Linked DNA regions of Homo sapiens: region 1 is linked to region 2. The links are contacts of gene promoters, found by promoter capture Hi-C in human tissues and cell types (Jung and others, 2019). All regions are on one chromosome and are shown on one strand. Each heading gives the region's core, a stretch centred on a gene start or on the middle of the fragment in contact. The rest is flanking DNA. Distances are from core to core; before and after follow the strand shown.

Region 1 (3,251 bases), core at 508-3,007, 70 kb before region 2:
GTTTGGAGCCCAGGCCACCTGTCTCTCATTCCAACCAGTGCCCCCTAAAGATGCGATTGCTTCGTCCTGCCTATGGAAGGAGGACTGAGTGGGAAGCCTCCCCTGTGGCAGGAAGAGAAGCACCTCCCTCCTCATCTAGACGAAGGTGGACAAGCTTCTGCCAGTCCTTCTTCAAACCTCGGAGTCGAGGATTCCTGCACAATTTCTATCAGGCCCTAAGCCTTTTAGTGGAACTTTCCAAGTTTATTTTTATTTTGAAATTCCATGGGTTTACTTCATTTGTAGCACATGTTTCCTAAAAACAGCTCATCTCTGCTCTTGCCCTTTTAGTATAAGCTCTCGAAAGCAGCCCCGGACCGTGTGAGAAAGCTGGAGGCAAAGAGCTGACAAATCACGGAGGTCCCCTAATCTGTGGAAGGCCCCAGGGCAGGGCACGGAAAGCCTTCCCTGGTCTGGTCTTCCCTTCCGCTCTTTTGGTGCCGTTGAGTCGTTGTCTGACTAGAGGAGCTTTCATTCTGGAAGGGAAGGCATTGCCAGTGAGCTTTACACATTTTACTATGCTCTCCACGATGTGACTGTTGTCATGGTTACTTTTTTCACCAAATTGAGACCCTCAGCCTTATTCCACACTGGAGAGGAAGTCAAAGAACAGGGCAGTCTGCATCCAGAAGAAAATCTGAGGTGGGCAGGAACTTTCCCTGCTTCTACCCAGACACATTCCCTGCTCTGGAGAGCAAAGCTGCCCTCCCGTTTCCTGCTTTTCATGACAAAGATTGGGTCTCTGTCACTCCCAAGCAGGGCGAATCGAGCCAGATTTTTGTTGGACGCTTTCAGGAGCAAAACCAGCTCCTCGTATTGTGTCCCATTCACAGCTGGAGCAGCTCGGGCACTAGGCGAGGCAGGGGGTGCGGCGAGCGGTCTCCAGCCGGCTGCCTGCGGTCGGTGCCGCCCGCAGAATCTGCGCGGCCCAGTGCAAAATAAAAACGCGGGGCCCCGCGTTCAAAAAGCAGGAAAAAGCCTTTCCCTTTCTCCCGTGGTCTTTCTGTCCACCTGTCTCGGCAGGGTTTATTTGCTAGTTAAGTTGCGCTGGCTTGAGCACAGGGACGCTGGCGGGCCAAAGGCCGACCCTCACAGGCGACCCAGCGTGGCGGCGAGGTCCCTTGGCTGTACGCCGAGGTCTGCGCCGCCCCCACGTCCGTGGCCGGCCACTGCCCAGGGCGGAGGGCAGCGGTGTTCGCCGGGTGGGGGCCCAGAACCTGTCCCAGGAAGACGCAGGAGACGCGACCGGGGTGAGACAAGAGTCCAAGCTCTCAAGCATCCACTGTGTTATTGCACTTCACTTACAATACACGAATTTGAAGGAAAAATGATTAAGAATTTCATATGGTGACTGCAGAGCATTCATTAGATTCCAAGCGGGACCCCTTCTGAGCGCGGGACCCTATGGCGGATTGCCATTGAAACCAGCCCTGCCGGCTCCCCATGCCCCGGGGAAGGGTCTTCCCTGTGCCCACCCCAGCTTAGCAGGCGAGAGCACTGGAAGGAGCCTGAACGCCACAACTGGTTGGCACTAGGCATTGCTCCGCCTTCGCCCCTCCCCACCCTGGGGAAGAAGCAGATACTAAGTAGATAAATATGAAAGCAAAGTACCATATCACTTTCCCCTAGGTTTCCTCCAGAGCACGTGTCAAATCTTTTTACTGTAGAGGTGGGGTTGCTTTCCTTCCATCAGACCCACCCTCCCCCATCCCATTTAAAGGACTTCGCCAAAGCATAAGTAACATGCAATAAACCTCAAATATTTAAAGTGTACTATTTTATGAGCTCTAACATATACACATGCACTTGTGAAACCATTACAAAATCAAGGTGGCATTTAATTTCCATCACCCACTTGTCACCCATCCTTCCTCCACACCCATCCCCTGATAACCACTGATTTGCTCCCTGTCATTATTGATCAGTTCGTGCTTTCTGGAATTCTATTGTCATAATCAAACAGTCTGTACTCTTTTTCATCTGGCTTCTTTTACTTAGCATATTGATTTTGAGTTTCATTCTTATTGTTCATATCAATAGTTTGTTCCTTAACATTGCTGAGCAGTACTCAATTGCATAGCTATGCCACAGTTTACCCATTCACTTCTTAAGGAGCATTTCCATCGTTTCCTTCCCCCCCCCCCTTTTTTTTTGGCTGTTTCAAGCAAGGCTATGATGGATGTCAGTGCACAAGTCTTTGTGTGGACATATATTTCACTTCTCTTGAGTAAAAATCTAACAGTGGCTGTATAGCAGGTGTATATTTAACTTTTTAAGAAACTGCCAAATTATCTTCCGAGGTTCCACTGCATTCCCATCAGCAGTATATGAGAGTTACAGTTGCTTCACATTCTCAGTCTTTGAATTTTAGCCATTCTAGAGGTATCTGATTGCGATCTTAATTTGCATTTTCCTGATTATTAATAATTTTGAGCATTTTCAAATGAACTTACTGGCCATTCATATATCTTTTATGAAGCATCTGGCCAAATCTTTTTTCCCATTTAAAAAAATGGGGTTGTCTTATTGACTTTTTTAATATATATATATTCTGGATTCGAGTTGTCTGATACGTGTTGTTTTGAATACTTTATCTTAGTCTGTGCTCTGCTTTATTTTCTTTGTGTCTATTGAGGATTAAGTTTTAAATTTTTGATCAAGTTTGTCAAGTGTCTTTATGGCTCCTACTTTTTTTGTGTTCTGAGAGACCTTTGTCTACTCCAAGGTCACCTCCTCTTTTCTTCTGTAAGTGTAATAGTTTTAGGTTTTATATGTAGGTCTATGATCCATTTTGAGTTAAATTTTGTATATGGTATGAGGTAAGGGTTAATAGGGTTATTATTTTTTCTTTCTTATGGATATATCCAGCACCGTTTTTTTGAAAAGGCCCTTTTCCCCCCTCAAATTGAATTGTCTTAGTACTTTTATTAAAAATTGGCAATATATGCATGGGTCTATTTCTGGATTTTCTGTTCTGTTCCATTAATCTATATGTTTATTTTTTGCCAACACAAAACTATTTTGATTACTATAGCTATAGTAGGTCTTGAAATATAAAAGCAAGATTAGTAAATTGGAGGATGAGCTCTCCAACTTGGTTCTTTTTTTTTTAAATTACTTTATGGGGTTGCCATGGAGGTGGACTGCTCAAATCTCCTTAAAACAACAACAACTACCACTACTACTACTATTTGGAGCATAGTTGACAGTTC
Region 2 (3,557 bases), core at 845-3,344:
CACCAGTGTGGTGGAAGGGTGGTGGGGCAGTAAAACCATCAAAAGTCACAGTGTAGCTGTCAATCTCATCACTGAAGACAAGAATACCCAAGTGCCAGGCCAGGAAAATTATTTACTTCACAATCAGGAAGAAATGCTGTGGAACTAAAGTTGGGGTATATTCTTGAATTTGATTTTATTCTCCAGAGCCCTAAAGTTAACCAGCTGGAATCATTTTTAAGGACCATTCTATTTAACTTTTGGAAATGAAGCATCTGCCTTTTAATGGAAAAACTACTTCTCATTGTAAAGATAGCACACAATGTTCTTGGCTGCTTTGGTCTCCAAAAAAAGGGAATTGAGATATCTCCCTGTGTCCGCATTATATCCTGAGCCTCCTGTGTCAACAAAACAGGCCAGATTGATAGCTTTTTTTTTTTTTTAATAATAAGTAAAAAGTAGCAGCCCATTCTGTGAAGTATCAGGCAGGGCAGGCTATGCAGGCATATCTGCCTCTCAAGAAATCTCAAGAGGCTTAGGGATTCACACTGAAAGGCTCCATATAACCAACCTCAAAGCCATGGTATTCAGACGAGAACCCAAGTTTATCGTGCATTCAAAAGTTCTGTTCCTCAAAAAGCATCTACAAAGTGTGATTAGCTAATGAATCCATTAATCAAATATTCCTACTTGGCACAAGTCCCTGCTGTGAGAGGACAGTTAAGATAGGTCCCTGCCTTAAGAATATTGTAACCCAACTGAAGAAATAGGATGTGGAAGAACTAAGATGTCGATTAACAGCACAAGGCACAGAAGAACTAAAGTGTCAACTAACAGCACAAGGCACACACAGTGTAAGTCTCAGCCAGTTCATATGGCCCATATCCAACAATACCAACCCGTGTTGAACATTTATTATACAAGTGCTTTACAAGTATTTTCTTATTAAAGCTTCACAACCCTATGAAATAGATACAATTACAGTCTCTTTAAAGAACTTGAGTAGCATATCTAAAGTCATGCAGTTAAAAAACAGTTTCAAGGTCAGGTCTGATTCCAAAGCCCAGGTGCATAACCACAGAGCCCCTGCAGCTTGTAGAGCTCACAGTGCTTGGGACTGGCCTAGGAAGTCAAGGCTAGATGAGGAAGGGTACTCGGAGTTAGGCCTTAAAGTGGGCAACACTGAAATAGGCCAGTGATGGAGATAGGTCACTGTGTGGCACTGCGGTGGAAAGAGGGTTGGAGAGAGAAGATAGAGGAGAAGAGGAAAGAGGGCAGAGCATGGCAGCTGCTTGGGCACAGCCACTTTAGGGTGAGAGATGAGTGAAGATGTCTACCTTGTAGGCCATATCAACATGTCCCCCTTCTTCTGTGAAAAATGCCATCATCCCACACAGGAAGAGTTGGAGAGGGATCTGACAGTGGAGTCTGGTAGGAAAGGAGTCTGGCTTTTCATTTGCGCTTCCTTCTGCCCCTCTTGCCCCAGAGCAATATCCCAGGCTTTCCACCAACCCAGCCCACGGGGTGGCCATGCTACAAGCCTTTTGAGTCCTGCATCCCAAGAGGGGCAGCTTCTTGGCCTGAAGTTGTCTAATAGAGCCTGCCTGGCTCCAAGCAGGCCTCATCTCTGCTCTGTCTACTGGATCTGGGCTCTGAACTGGGGTGGGAGGTGGGGAAATGGGGAGGCTGGTTCAGGCTACCACTTCCTCTCCTCACCATTGGATAGCCAGCCTTTCAAGGAAAGTAGGGGGCCAGTTCTGTGGCATAGAACAGTATAGTTCTTAGGCCCTCCTATTTCAGAAAAACACTCAAGCAGTGTTTTCCCTCTGCTCTCACACCACGACAACAGTCATCAACACAGAAGACTTCTGCGACCAAATGTAGGGGATTTTCCCCCACACACCAAGCAGCGGGCACCAGCTGGGTGTCCTCCAACTCAGTTCCAACACTATCTACCTGGAAAGAGTGTCTGATCCCACAGGTTGAGGGCTCAGTCAGATTAAGAGATACATACGCGACGTCTGGAAGATCCCGAGCACAGGACCTTCCGTCCTGATAGGATAAGTTCTTCTTCACCTTCCTGTTTGCCTCCACGTGTTCAGCCCTCCAGAAACTCCCTGAACCCTGTCCTTTGGGCCTTTTATGGAGATTTCATTTGTTGTCCATGACTGAAGCATGTGATTGAACAAAATGTGATTGGACAAAAAGGGTATGATCTAATCTCAGCAAGGTCTGTCTGTCCAGATTCTTCTTCCTCTCTTTGTGCAGCATTCCTTCCTCCAGGGTATGGGGCATGACCTCCTCTGGAATGAGGGTCTTATGACCCACAATCAGATTATAGAGTCCCGCCTTGGGTGGATGAAAGGAGGGCAAAGAAGGCCAGAGAAATATTCTGTTTCCTGAGGCCTAAAGCACCTCTACATTATAGCAAAAGACCTCAGCAAGTGTCATGGGAGTTATGGACAAGAACCATGGACAAAAATCTATATACATGTAATCATAAGATCACACCCCCCACCACACACCACATTGTTCTACATAGAAGTGCCTTCACTATACAGCTTTTCATTTATTCATTCGTTCATTCACTCATTTATTCAACGGGTAATAGTGAATTCCAAATCAGGAACTGTGCTATGTGTTGGGGGTGACATGGCCCCTAGCCTCAGGAGGCTTCTATTCCATGGTTAATGGTGGGTATTGCTGAGAGATGATCAGTCAACAGTAACTGCAATGAATGTTAGGATAAAGAGAAGCCCAGAAGGCTCCACGGTGTTCCAGCTGCTCACAGGGTAATCTGCCTGTCTTTTTTACTTCCGTATCTCCAATGCCCATTATCATACCAGGCACAGGAAGTGCTCAGTTAAGTGTTTACTGAATTAAATGAAGATCTGAATGATGCTGAGTGTCAACCCTCCCTCTCAGTGGCTCCTCCCCATTGGCCCTAAACCTGATACCTGGATGAAAAGAGATAAGGATACATGACAGTTCTTCAAGTAGGTCACAGAACGTTTGAGTTGGGAGGAAATGGACAAAGCTTTTTACATCACTGCCATCCCCTCCCAGTCATCATATCCCCACAGTGGGGGTACTTTATGAAACACTTGGACCTTCATGCTTTCCTAATTTCTTCTTATCCTGTATGCTCTTCTAAGAATACTGAAGTTGGTCAATGTTCCTATTAAAACTCAGGAATCTAAACTTTGACTCAGAATTTCTGATTGAGATGTCACTTCAGTTTCCTTGTGCATTCTCAGAGGCTCTACCCTGGCTCACCCTGGAGAGTAGGGGGCAAGAAGTCTGATACTACTCAGCTTTCTCTCCTGTGCCAAAAAATCCTACCTGCAAGAATTGGTATGTGTATTAGTCCATTCTTGCCTTGCTATAAAGAAAAGCCCGAGACTGGGTAACTTACAAGAAAAGAAGTTTAATTGGCTCATGGTTCCACAGGCTGAACAGGAAGCATGGCAGCACCTGCATCTGGGGAGGCCTCAGGGAGCTTTTACTCATGGAGGAAGGCAAAGCAGGAGCAGGAACATCTCACATGGTGGGAGCAGGAGGAAGAGGGGCCAGGAGAG

Evidence for each region. Contacts are between HindIII fragments. The study calls those that stand out against the background at their distance.
Region 1: a fragment that was not itself captured here is called in contact with the fragment with the promoter of CYP19A1 in region 2 in 2 of the 25 tissues and cell types used here (adrenal gland and lymphoblastoid cells).

The regions. Positions count from the first base shown.
Region 1 is chr15:51,266,348-51,269,598 of GRCh38, forward strand. The region is part of intron 1 of CYP19A1 (cytochrome P450 family 19 subfamily A member 1); the gene reads right to left. The region is part of intron 1 of MIR4713HG (MIR4713 host gene); the gene reads left to right. Among named protein-coding and RNA genes, the nearest start is that of MIR4713, 26 kb to the left of the region's middle. RefSeq lists an enhancer at 519-1,152. The HindIII fragment of the contact is 4,024 bases long and covers 1-3,251 here.
Region 2 is chr15:51,336,502-51,340,058 of GRCh38, forward strand. CYP19A1 (cytochrome P450 family 19 subfamily A member 1) reads right to left here and starts at 2,095. Exons shown (of 10, transcript NM_000103.4): 1 at 1,994-2,095. RefSeq lists promoters at 2,020-2,597, 2,020-2,338, an enhancer at 2,259-2,338 and cis regulatory regions at 2,290-2,307, 2,372-2,401. The HindIII fragment of the contact is 2,870 bases long and covers 1,974-3,557 here.